Regions from separate parts of the Homo sapiens genome. Here regions 2, 3 and 4 are each linked to region 1. Evidence: promoter capture Hi-C in 16 types of primary human blood cells and fetal thymus (Javierre and others, 2016). All regions are on one chromosome and are shown on one strand. The core of a region is centred on a gene start or on the middle of the fragment in contact, and the rest is flanking DNA. Distances in the headings are between cores, read along the strand shown. Region 1 holds the start of L3HYPDH (trans-L-3-hydroxyproline dehydratase). Region 2 overlaps DHRS7 (dehydrogenase/reductase 7). Region 3 overlaps LOC101927702 (a long non-coding RNA gene). Region 4 has its middle 14 kb from the start of DHRS7.

Region 1 (2,819 bases), core at 114-2,613:
TGGCGCGCGCCTGTAGTCCCAGCTACTGGGGAGGCTGAGGCAGGAGAATCGCTTGAACCCAGGAGGCAGAGGTTGCAGTGAGCCGAGATCGCGCCACTGCACTCCAGCCTGGGCTACAGAAGGAGACTCCGTCTCAAAACAAACTGCGGTCTACATGTGAATTAATTTGAAAAATTATGCATCTTTTGACTATTCTTGAACAATCATTTCCCAAATTATTCACGAATTCACAATCTAGACTGCCTGGTCTACAGTGCCTTCTCTCCTTTCACATTCAAGCAGACTTTTTACTTCCTTCTCCTTATGCTGCTGAGAGAAAAAGAGAAACAGCATTGAATAATATTCCTCCAGTTTAATATTTTCGCTTTTAACAAATTTCGGACTTAGCTTTTTAAACCCACTGGCCTCTTTAATGGGCGCTTATTTTTTTTGTAACCAATTGTAATCACAATGTTCTAAATTAATACATGAAAATGAATATTTCAGGTTTTTCAAGAATGCAGAAGGTAAGGAATTGGAAACTTCTGTATGGGCTTTACATCTAGTAGATGCTTAATAAATACACGTGAATATCAATAATCTAAAGTTTCTCAAAATCCAAGGCCTGAAAACCAGTATGATAAACTGAACTGAAATAAACAGCCTATCACTTACTAAGCAAAACCCAGGCTCCAAGCGACTGTTGAATTTCTCCTTTCATTTCCTTTAGCGAACGATGGCTAAAGTTTTAAGATTCCATTTTTTTGCAGCGGTCCTGCCCTTTGTGACGGGCGCTATAAATCTACGTTTGAGGTTGAAGCAGTAGACAAATTATGCAGCAACTTGCTTCTGCTTTACTGTTTTTTCTGCACTATCACCCGCGTTTTCAATTCCGAAGTCAACCCTCAAGCAAGTGTTCCCTCGACATTAAACTAAGGGACTGAAGAGACATTTCGGACCAAACAACAAAGACCTGGCATTTCGCCGCAGACAGCGCGCCTCCCCTAGTAGCCCGTTGCGGACAGACCACCCCAACCCCGCAGGAGTGCGGAGCCCGGCCCGAGGGCGGGCGGGGTCAAGGGGCGAGCCTGCGCCGCCAACCGAAGGCCGCCTACAAAGAGCCGAGCCCGAGGCCAGCCGTGTAGGAAAGTAGTCGGGACTACCAGAAACGCTTCCCGGGATCTTGGCGACCACTCACCCATGGGCCGCCTGAAGGTTTTTTTCGAGAAGCACTAGATCAGCGGATCTGGCAGCTGCACCGAACATCCGGGCCACAGCGAGCTCGGCGGCTCCGCCTCCCGGTAACCCGGGCGACAGCTCCGAAGTTCCTCCCTCGCTTCCGGGTTTAGGCTCCGAGACCCCGCCCCCCGGACGTGGCTGGTTAGCGTCCCGCCCTCCTCCCGCGGAGTCAGTGGGTGAGGGTCGGGCTTGAAGCCATAGCTGCGGGACCGTACTCGTCTCCCCCGACGCAGACCATGGAGAGCGCGCTGGCGGTGCCCCGGCTGCCCCCGCATGATCCAGGGACGCCGGTGCTGTCGGTGGTGGACATGCACACGGGCGGCGAGCCCTTGCGTATCGTGCTGGCGGGGTGTCCGGAGGTGTCTGGGCCCACCCTGCTGGCCAAGCGGCGCTACATGCGCCAGCACCTTGACCACGTGCGGCGACGGCTCATGTTCGAGCCCCGAGGGCACCGGGACATGTACGGGGCGGTCCTAGTCCCGAGCGAGCTGCCGGACGCGCATCTGGGCGTCCTGTTCCTGCACAACGAGGGCTACAGCTCCATGTGCGGCCACGCAGTGCTGGCGCTGGGCCGCTTCGCTTTGGACTTCGGGCTTGTGCCGGCGCCCCCTGCGGGCACCCGCGAGGCCCGCGTCAATATCCACTGCCCCTGCGGGCTGGTGACCGCCTTCGTGGCATGCGAGGACGGCCGCAGCCACGGACCGGTGCGCTTCCACAGCGTCCCGGCCTTCGTGCTGGCCACAGGTAATGGGCGGGACCTTTCCAGCCCAGGGCAGAGCTGCAACCGGGACGCGACTAACTACATTAACGGTTTTTCTGGGCTGGAACTCTGGCAACTAACCTACTCCGCGAAACCTTGCAATTAATAGAAAGGTAAATCACTGCCAACGTGTGTCAGCAGCCTTGCGTATTTGGTGCGTGTAATTTCGATTTTCCCTGACTCCCATCCGCCTGTGGTTTTGGGAGACCCTTGAGGAGCGAGGAATTGCGTGTTACCCTGACTCAGCGCCTCCCTCTGCACTGGTGAGGCATTCCTAGAGATTTCACCGGTGGATAAAGCAAGGTACGGTGGGGTCAAGGAAAGAGCGAAGAACAGCCAATGTACCAGGGTTCCAGGCTGGCTGAGAATATGCTTGGTAGACACAGAATCACACTTAATAAGTTACTAAACCTGGTCTCCTTTCCTCACCTCCCCCACTTCTTTGAAGAATTAAATGAGAATGAATGAACAAAGCAGTTTATAAATCATTAAGATACGAATGTTGCTTTTCTTTAAGAACAGGAACACACATTGCCTGGTTTCAAATCCTGATAACCCCCTAAAGCTGTGCAACCTTAGGCAAATTACTTAATCTCTCTGTGCCTGTGTTTCTTCTTTTCCCTCATAGAGTTTTTTTGTTAGGATTAAATGAGAGTATGCAAGATACTGTATTCCTGGAGATAGATTGCAAGGTTTATATGATCGCTAAAGTTCCCTAGGCCTATTGAGCCATTAAAAGGTTTTGCTGGATTCTCTAGTACAGATCCTTGTACAGCTTATCATGTAAAGCAGGGCATCTCTATAACCATAACCCTTACAGGAGGGATGACCTGGCAAGCTG
Region 2 (2,991 bases), core at 359-2,858, 670 kb before region 1:
TAGCCCAGACATAGTATTTGGGATGTTTCCATCCTTAGTTGAGATTTTTTTTTTTTTTTTTTTTTTTCCGACAGAGTCTCACTCTGTCACCCATGCTGGAGTGCAGTGGAGCAATCTTGGCTCACTGCAACCTCTGCCTCCCAGGTTCAAGCAATTCTTGCACCTCAGCCTCCTGAGTAGTTGGGGTTACAACGATGCGCCACCACACCTGGCTAATTTTTGTATTTTTCATAGAGAACAGGTTCCATCATGTTGGCCAGGCTGGTCTCGAACTCCTGGCCTCAAGTGATCTGCCCGCCTTGGCCTCCCAAAGTGCTGGGATTACAGATGTGAGCCACCGTACCTGGCCTTAGTTGAGATATTTACATGGAACCTTTTTCTTAAGGACAAGTGGTATTTTCTTGAATGTCTAAGAAACAGTTGGGTTTTAAAATATTGATCATATGTAAATGTGTATATCATGAAATAGTGGACAGTGTGGGCTTTGGAGCTAGATATACCTGGGCTTATATCCCGGCTCTGCCAGGGTTCTTGGGTGTTTATTCAGTAGTTATTTATGGAGCCTTTTCAATATTCCAGTCTTTGCTAAGCACTGAGGCCACAGCAATGAACAAGGTAGACAGGGTCCTACCCTTAATGGAATCTATGGTCTAGTGGGACAAATTAATCTCTGTAAACCTCAGTTACCTTTTCTGTAAAACTGAGATAATAATACCTTTCCATACAGTTCTGGTGAGGCTTTTAGTAGACAATGTGCTAAGTACATAGGAAGTAATGTAAAAACGTTAAGCCATTAGAATTGGTAACTCTGTTTTCCTGGCTGGAGAAGTTAGGAGACATACGTTATTAAGTGACTGTTCTATGTTTTGCTGTAGTAAAGTCCATCTGTTAAAAAACTTGAGCAATAATTATAATTGACGTTTATTAAACACTGAGTATGTACTAGATACTGCCCTGAGTGCTTTCCATGTTTTAACTCATTTCTCAACAATCCTGTGAAGGATGTGTTCTTATTCATCACATTTCCAGTTGTGGAAAATTAAGGCACCAAGTTCTCACCTGGGAGCATTTCAGTGCTGTGTGTGATGGAGCTGGCATTTGAACCCTGGCAGTCTCCAGGGATGGTACTGTTAACATCACAGTTAGGATTTAGAGCTGTTTAAAACAGTACAATCATTTCCTGATTTTAACTTTTCTGATCTAAAATCGGAAATGTGATGTTAAGTGATACGATATTTGATATTTTTGATAAATAACATATATTTTAGTAAATAAGTCACCCAGGAACTTTGCATAACAGTGACTTTACGGGTTCAGAGAGACAGTGAATATCATCTCCTGAAGTGCTAATAAGTTTTTCATTGGAGAAAAGAATAAACCATTTGTCATTGCTTTAGTACTGTAACATTTGTAGTCTTTTAAGAGGAACATAATTGGAGAAGCAGAGTACAATATTTCATCTCTCTGTAATATGCATTTGTTCTTGGGTGAATTACTATATTCTCCTAAGATGAAAGCTCAGGCATCTGGGGAACATTTTTACAAAATGACCTTGAGCTGATAGGCATCAGGCATTATTGGCAAATGGGGAAAATACTACTTTAAAAATCTAGGATGTTTCCATCAACAGCACAGAACTTGGTATATTTAGATTCTTCATCAACCTCCATTGCAAAATATTAGAATAATAGAATTAAAAACTGGATGTGACCTTCAGCCATCATCTAATCTGAATGCCTCATTTAATGGCTAAGGAAAAGTGAGTCCAGACAGTGATTTTTGTATTTACTTAGCCTGTTTATCTTATCTATCATATTTATCTTACCTGTTTGTGTTAAATAGAGCCTTAGAGTGAAACCATGAGGTTATAAGGCTTACCTTGAAGTAAAGTCTGGAAAAGTCATGAAGGTTCTGTAATATACAAATACTGTGTTGATAACTGTTACTAGTATGATTTGTATTAATGCTTTTTTTTTTTTTTAGTTAAGAAGGAGATGCTTTCTTAGAATATTTCAAATTTTAACTCTATACATCATGCCTTCATATTTAGTGGTATTGTTTAAGGCTTTCTTTTTTTTTTCTAATCTTGGATTTATGAGCGTAATTCATTGCTTATTTTCTTCCTTCCATTTACATTCCTTCCATAGAATGGGAGCTGACTGATATGGTGGTGTGGGTGACTGGAGCCTCGAGTGGAATTGGTGAGGAGCTGGCTTACCAGTTGTCTAAACTAGGAGTTTCTCTTGTGCTGTCAGCCAGAAGAGTGCATGAGCTGGAAAGGGTGAAAAGAAGATGCCTAGGTAAGCGGATCTGAAATAGCAGCGGTGCTTCCTAGAAATAAATCAGTCCAAACTCAAATACAGTTTTGGGACTTTTAGAGAGGAGTGAGATTTCCCCCCGGCTCCAAATGTTCTACATGCTTCATCTCAGTTCCTCTCCTTTTTGCCTTAATTGGCTGCCCTCGCCTTTTTCTTCTTTTCTGCCACCTTTCTATGCTTTTTTTGCACTGACTCTTGGCATTAGGGAGTGACCAACAATTATATAAAATGCTGGTGGATTTTTAGTGACCAAGTATCTTAGATTTTTGTCTTAGAGAAAAAACAGTTGGGTTCTTATCCATGACATACATGTATCTGATCATAGAAATTAGGAAGAATCCTTACTCATTTTATTAAAGTATCAGATATTAAAATCATATGGGATAAGACTTATTATATAGGATAAAAGAACAGGAATGGAATTAGCTTTAAAAAATACAACTTGAGGTAATACTTTCATATTCACATAAAGGGCAACAGTGTTAATATTTTTGTTTGAATTTTGGTGTAGTTATGTTTACTTTTTTCTTTTTGAGATGAAGTCTCACTTTGTTGCCCAGGCTGGAGTACAATGGTGTGATCTTGGCTCATTGCAACTTCCGCCTCACAGGTTCAAGCGATTCTTGTACCTCAGCCTCCTGAGTAGCTGGGGCCACAGACGTGCACCACCACA
Region 3 (3,258 bases), core at 73-2,572, 760 kb before region 1:
TCTTACAGCCCAAAGACAAGTTCAGCAAACTCAAGGCAAATAGTTTATGGTCATTTAAGTTTCGAGAGTGTTTCAACGTGGACATTAGGGATATTTAATTTATAATCAGGAAACTACATTATGTGCACGGGTATAATCCATAGAAAATAACTTGGTGAGTTGGTCTGGTGCAAAAAGCAAAGCAACTTTTTTAAAAATTGAAATTAAAAATAGTCTGGGTGCAGTGGCTCACACCTGTAATCCCAGCACTTTGGAAGGCCAAAGCGAGTGGATCACTTGAGGCCAGGAGTTCAAGACCAGCCTGGCCAACATGGGGAAACCCCGTCTCTACTGAAAATACAAAATTAGCCACACCTGGTGGCACACGCCTGTAATCCCAGCTACTTGGGAAGCTGAGGCAGGAGAATCGCAGGCAGGAGAATCACTGGAACTCAGGAGGTGGAGGTTGCAGTGGGCCGAGATCATGCCCCTGCACCCTAGCCTGCATGACAGAAAAAAAAACACCTTTATTCAACTATTGAAATTGAGAAGTATTCCATAACTCCAGGAAAGACCCGTCAGACAATCCAGCAGCAGCTAGAAAAGAGTGAATTATAAGCTTCAAATAAATAGTTTTCATCCCAATATAGGTACCTATTTGTGCTAAGTAAAGACTAGCACAGATTTGAGTGGGCTTCTTCAGAACAATTCTTCTGGGTGTTTACTGTCTATCCTGGGCATTACAGAAGATCTCAAACTAAACCATACTTTTGAAAGCAGCGACACACTGCATCCTTAACAATGGTGGCCTGGTTGAAAACAGTAATGAAATTGTCATCATCATAAAGCCTTTTATCTGAACCTGACTCTGCAGTTTACAAAGCACTATCATACAGACTAACCAGTTTAATCCTCTCAAAAACCCTTGCAGGTAGACAGGGCAAGGACTCTTAATCTCCTCCTTTATAGAAGAGAAAACTAAGCATCTGGTAGTAACTACCCAGGGTCACAGAAATTAATGACGGGTACCCAGGTTTGTCCCCCGTACGATACTGAGCATCATTGCTTTTACATGCTGGTAGTAAAGGCAGCAGGAGTGGAAAGAGTGCTGAACTTAGTTCCAGTCCGTGGTGTGGAGAGCTGGCCTATACTGGCTCATGACAGCAGATTATTAAATTTTCAGAAATTTTGCCTGCTGTTTGTTAAATACTCATTATTAAAAATTAAATGATATAGGCTGGGTGCAGTGTCTCATGCCTATATTCCCAGCACTTTGGGAGGCTGAGGTGGGTGGATCACCTGAGATCAGGAGTTTGAGATCAGCCTGGCCAACATGGTGAAACCCCGTCTCTACTAAAAATACAAAAATTAGCCAGGTGTGGTGTCGGGAGCCTGTAATCCTAGCTACTTGGGAGGCTGAGGCAGGAGAATTGCTTGAACCCAGGAGGCAGAGGTTGCAGTGAGCTGAGATTGCGCCATTGCACTCCAGCCTGGGTGACAAGGTGAGACTCCATCTCAAAAATCAATCAATAAATAAATATAAAAATAGAAATAAAAATTAAGTTAGATAAACTTCCAATGAAATAAATTTTAAACAAAGGTAGTATGTGATAAAAACATCACTTCCAAATTATGTTAATACATTTTAATATTGTCTTTGTTCTTTAGGCAATTTACATGCATTGTGTCTGCATGGTGGAAATTCCCTATATGTAATTGTACATCTCTTCCCAATACCACATTTAGTGAGTTTTCTTTGGTAGCTTGATCAGCGGACACCACAGATGAGGGCTTCACTTATTGCTTTGCTGGTTGTGGGCTAGACCAGGGTTGTCCAATCTTTTGCTTCCCTCGGCCACATTGGCAGAAGAAAAATAGTCTTGGGCCACACATAAAATACGCTAACACTAATGATAGCTGATGAGCTAATACAAAACAAAACGAAACAAAATCACACACACACACAAAATCTCACATTTTAAGAAAGTTTACGAATTTGTGTTGGGCTGCATTCAAAGCCATCCTGGGCTGTATGCGGCCCACAGGCCCAGGGTTGGACAAGCTTGGTCTAGGCTTAAGTGACAGAGAAAATGTTTTATGCAGATTAAATGTAAAAGACATGTCGTGTCTATAACTGTTACATGGTGAATAGCATAAAAACATTCAATTTAGCAATGAAGTCACATCATTGACTAATAAGCTCTAACATACATTTTTGTTGTTTTATTTTTATCTTAAATGAAAATATTAACCAATAGCCATGTTGGAACTACATTTGGAAAGGTGGTTGTTAAACATTTCCCAGCACACACCTGGATCTGCATCTGCTGTGTCAATTGAACCACTCACTGGTTCTGTGACCTCAGGCAAGTCATTTAAATTATAAGCCTTGGTTTTATCCTCCACAGAATACTTCCTCCTAAAATGTGTTGTGAAAATTAGAATAGATGAAGGCACCCTTGAAAAGATGACTGATGCGGTTGGTTGCCCCACCACTTCCTACTACTTGGCAGAGCCTCCTCGTTGGCAGATCCTTCTCTCACTAGAGCATGTATATGGATGCATGCTCTCTCACCCTCCCTTGTAGCTTAGAGCAGAGCATACCAATCTATGTGCCAGCATACCCTGGTATGTCTCAGATGGGTCATAGATGTGATAAGGTATGGATCCCTTAAGCCCTTGGGACATTCAAGTGAGGCTGAGCTGCTGAAGCCCTGGGATGGTATGACTGGCCACAAGCAACATTACCCAGGTACCCCTCTGTGTCACAAAAACGTTATCTTTGTATTTGTGTCATGGTGTGAAAAAATTGAGAAGCACTGCCTGGGGACATAGTGAGGTAGCCCAATTCTGGATAAAGGAAATTGAGAAGTCTTGAGGGGGTAGAGAGGTTTTCTTCCCTAATAAGAAGAATCACAGGAGAGAAAATGCCTTCCTCAGCCATATGTTGTTATTTCTATATGTGAGCCTGGAATTTCAAGGTTATCTTGCAAAGAACCAAGGCAATGTAGAGAAAAGAATTGATAGCAAGTGGCTGGATCTTTCACATTGTAAAGCCATTGAGCCATCCGTGCAATTGCCCACCTTGGGAATTTATTTTTAAGAGTGATAATAAATGCTCCTCATTGTTTAAACTACTTTGATTTTTGTATTTGGTTATTCATAATTAAAAACACCCAAATACAGTAGAAGAACTGGTACATCCCTGACACCTAATGAGTGCTCAATATGGTTAGTTAATCACCAAATTAGATCCTTTGCCTTTAGAAAAGCTGCCAT
Region 4 (3,153 bases), core at 300-2,799, 700 kb before region 1:
TGCAGAAAAATACCTGGCTATAGAAGAGTTTATTAAATAAATATTATAATACTGTTCTTTATCTTGCTTTTAAGTTTCCATTTTTGACAAAAAATTATAAAGCATGCAAAGAAACAAGAAAGTATGGCCCATTCACAAAAGAAATGAACAAAAACTATCTCTGAGGAAGCACAGACATTGGACTACCTAGTCAAACTGTCTTAAATATGCACAAAGAGCTAAAGGAAACCATGGAGAAAGTGTGAGAGAAAATCAGGGAAATGATAAATGAATAGAAAATATCAATAAAAAATAGAAATTATAAAAAGAAACCAGACAGAAATTCTCGACCTGAAAAGTAGAGTAACTGAAATAAAAATTTCTCTAGAGAATTTTAATAGCATATTTGAGCAGGATGATAGAAAGAATTAGCAAACATAAAGATAGGTCCTTTGAAATTATTCAGTCAAGGAATGCAGAAAAACAAACAGTGCCTGAGAGACCTATGGGATGCCATTAAGCAAACCAAATACACATATTGGGAATCCCAGTAGGAGAGGACAGGACAAAGTGGTCAGAAAAAAATATTTGAACAAATAATGGCTTAAAATTTCCTGAATTTGATTTTTAAAAATTAAAACATGAATTTAAGCATTTAAGGAGCTCAATTAACTCCAAGAAGGATAAATGCAAAAGGAATCATGCCAGGACACATAATCAAATTATCAAAAGACAAAGATGGAGAAGCAACTCATCATGTACAAGTGATCTTTAATAAGACTGATGGCGGGTTCCTCATTAGAAATCATGGAGGCCAGAAAGTAGTGGGGTAATATTTTTAATTTTTAAAATTATCTTGTTGTTGTTTCTGTTTTGTCTTTTACAAGATGAAAATTTAATAAAAAATTGGTCAGTGGGTATGTGTAATCCACAGGGCTATATAGTTACGCGGGATTGTAATAGGAATTTAACATAGAATAGATACTGGAGTAAATTTTACATATTATCATCATCTGACCTGTCTTCTTCACTCAAGGATTCTTTAGCATATTTATCTGCTTATTCCCTTATATCTTTTGAAACAATTTCATGTCTTCCTTTAGTTAAACCACTAACCCAGCTGAGTTCGTAAACTTTATCCTTAGCGTCATCATGTACTATGTAAATTACTTGAGCAACTTCTGTAACAGTATCATAGCAGGTCATTTCTTTCATCTGAAGCTTTTCTATTTCTGTTTTACAGCTTGCCTGGCTTTGCCAGTGGCACAGGCCCAATAACCATATAAAACACCTGATGAGTCAATCATGGAAAATTGTGCACTGTCATTCATACTGTAAGACCCTAACATGAAACTGAAGGCAAAAGATCTAACAGCACTGTAGAGTGTATATGCATGTACATACATGTCCACTCTGTTTGCAAGATGTTTTAGTGGAGTGTTATAACCAAAGTCAGATTTAAAGTTGGAAACTTCTTCTCTTGCTATGTCTGCTAAAGAACAAGCATCTGCCTACAAACCTGCTGCCAGCATTCCAACATTCCGATCCAATGTGCTGATCAACATTAATAAGTCGTTTGTTGGAAACTCCTTCATAAAGTTTAGAAAGCACTAATTTTTTAGACCCCAAAGACATTGCTATGTTTATATATGATTTCAATCACTGTACGATTTCCCACAGCCTTCATAGCCCCATTTATATTTCTTATAGATGAAACAAATATGACAAATTGCTAATAGTTAGTGGGTATATGGATGATCATGTACTATTCTTTTAACTTTTGTATATTTGGAAAGTTTTGTAGTAAAAAATGGAGGGTAAAAGAAACAGAATATTCTTCACCTAAAGATTCTGCCTATCTATCTATCTATAAAAAACTTCAGCAAACATAATCCTAAATCAGAAAAATTTTAAGCTTTCCTAATAAAGTTAGGGACTAGGCAATGTTACCCATTTTATCACTTCAAGTCAACACTGTATTAGAAATTCCTGACAGTGCAAAAAAAAAAAAAAGAAATCAAGACATAAGTATTGGAAAAAGAAATTAGACTATCATTATATTATTAATAATAGGTTTAATTACATAGAAAACATATAGAATTTAAAAATAGGATAATTTAGCACAGTGCCTTGTTATCGAAGCAATTTATAATAGTTAATTTCATATTCATATACCAGCAGCAAGTAACTAGAAAACACAATTTAAAAGAACACAAAATTTGAAATAGCATGAAGTAATACGGAGTACAAAGGAACAAACACAGCCATGTGTTGCTTAATGATGAGAATACTTTCTGAGAAATGGGTTGTTAGGCGATTCTGTCATTATATCAACATCGTAGAGTGTACTTAAACAAACCTAGATGGTATAGCTTACTACACACCTAGGATAGATACTATACCCTAGGCTACAAACCTGTATAGCATGTTACTGTACTGAATACTGTAGGCAATTAAAACACAATGGTAAGTATTTGCATATCTAAACAAACCTAAATATACTCTTAATTCGGCAATTTTACTCTTAGGAATTCATCTCATAGAAATAACAGCATCAGTATATAAGGAACACAGATACACATGGATATAAACCATTGGTTGTAGTTATTTAATACAAAAAGGAAACAGTTTTAATGCCCATCAGTAATGGATATGATTGAATAATTGTGGTATATCTATTCAATGGAATAGTAGACAGTGATTAAAAAGAAAGTGTCAAATCTACTAAATCTATCTGGAGGGATGTTCATGATATTGGTAAACTGGAAAAGCAAGTCTCAGTGTGAAGTGTATAATACAATACTGTTTTTATAAGTTCAAGCAAAAAACCATAGGGATATTGCTGATATTTGATCATTTTTAAATGAAATGAAAATGGAAATTACATAAAATTAATTATAATATTTGGGAATGTTTATATGAGAAAGGGAATGTTGTAGGAAGGCTCATCCCAGGCTCTGAGCTATGGTTAGCCTACTGTGGTAGGTGAGAGTTCACACAGGGAAGGTCATCTACTTTTCCTTATGCCTTCCTGCATCATTTATTTACATGGATTGCAATAAACTTTTGCTATTTTTAATTTTAAAAAAATCTATTAATGTTAATTTATAAAAATGAAAAAGTTTTTTATTTGAAATCTAATTTTCATCATTTCAAAGCAAGTGTTTCATTATA

What was found. Contacts are between HindIII fragments. The CHiCAGO score rates a contact against its expected background, and 5 or more counts as called.
Region 2: a fragment that was not itself captured here is called in contact with the fragment with the promoter of L3HYPDH in region 1 in 2 of 17 cell types (neutrophils and naive CD8 T cells); the score reaches 12.6 in neutrophils.
Region 3: a contact is called between a fragment that was not itself captured here and the fragment with the promoter of L3HYPDH in region 1, in 1 of 17 cell types (neutrophils). The highest score is 7.1, in neutrophils.
Region 4: a fragment that was not itself captured here is called in contact with the fragment with the promoter of L3HYPDH in region 1 in 2 of 17 cell types (neutrophils and naive B cells); the score reaches 5.9 in neutrophils.

Annotation. Positions count from the first base shown.
Region 1 is chr14:59,482,952-59,485,770 of GRCh38, reverse strand. It overlaps L3HYPDH (trans-L-3-hydroxyproline dehydratase), which reads left to right and starts at 1,363. Exons shown (of 5, transcript NM_144581.2): 1 at 1,363-1,962. The coding sequence starts at 1,455. JKAMP (JNK1/MAPK8 associated membrane protein) reads right to left here and starts at 1,254. Exons shown (of 7, transcript NM_016475.5): 1 at 1,178-1,254. The coding sequence starts at 1,181. RefSeq lists an enhancer at 1,009-1,288. The HindIII fragment of the contact is 9,651 bases long and covers 1-2,819 here.
Region 2 is chr14:60,155,309-60,158,299 of GRCh38, reverse strand. DHRS7 (dehydrogenase/reductase 7) reads left to right here. Exons shown (of 7, transcript NM_016029.4): 2 at 2,148-2,300. Among named protein-coding and RNA genes, the nearest start is that of DHRS7, 8.6 kb to the left of the region's middle. The HindIII fragment of the contact is 4,388 bases long and covers 1-2,991 here.
Region 3 is chr14:60,241,850-60,245,107 of GRCh38, reverse strand. LOC101927702 (a long non-coding RNA gene) reads left to right here. Exons shown (of 3, transcript NR_188027.1): 2 at 2,238-2,345. Among named protein-coding and RNA genes, the nearest start is that of PPM1A, 5.7 kb to the left of the region's middle. The HindIII fragment of the contact is 1,443 bases long and covers 601-2,043 here.
Region 4 is chr14:60,177,840-60,180,992 of GRCh38, reverse strand. It overlaps the pseudogene PSMA3P1. Among named protein-coding and RNA genes, the nearest start is that of DHRS7, 14 kb to the right of the region's middle. The HindIII fragment of the contact is 694 bases long and covers 1,203-1,896 here.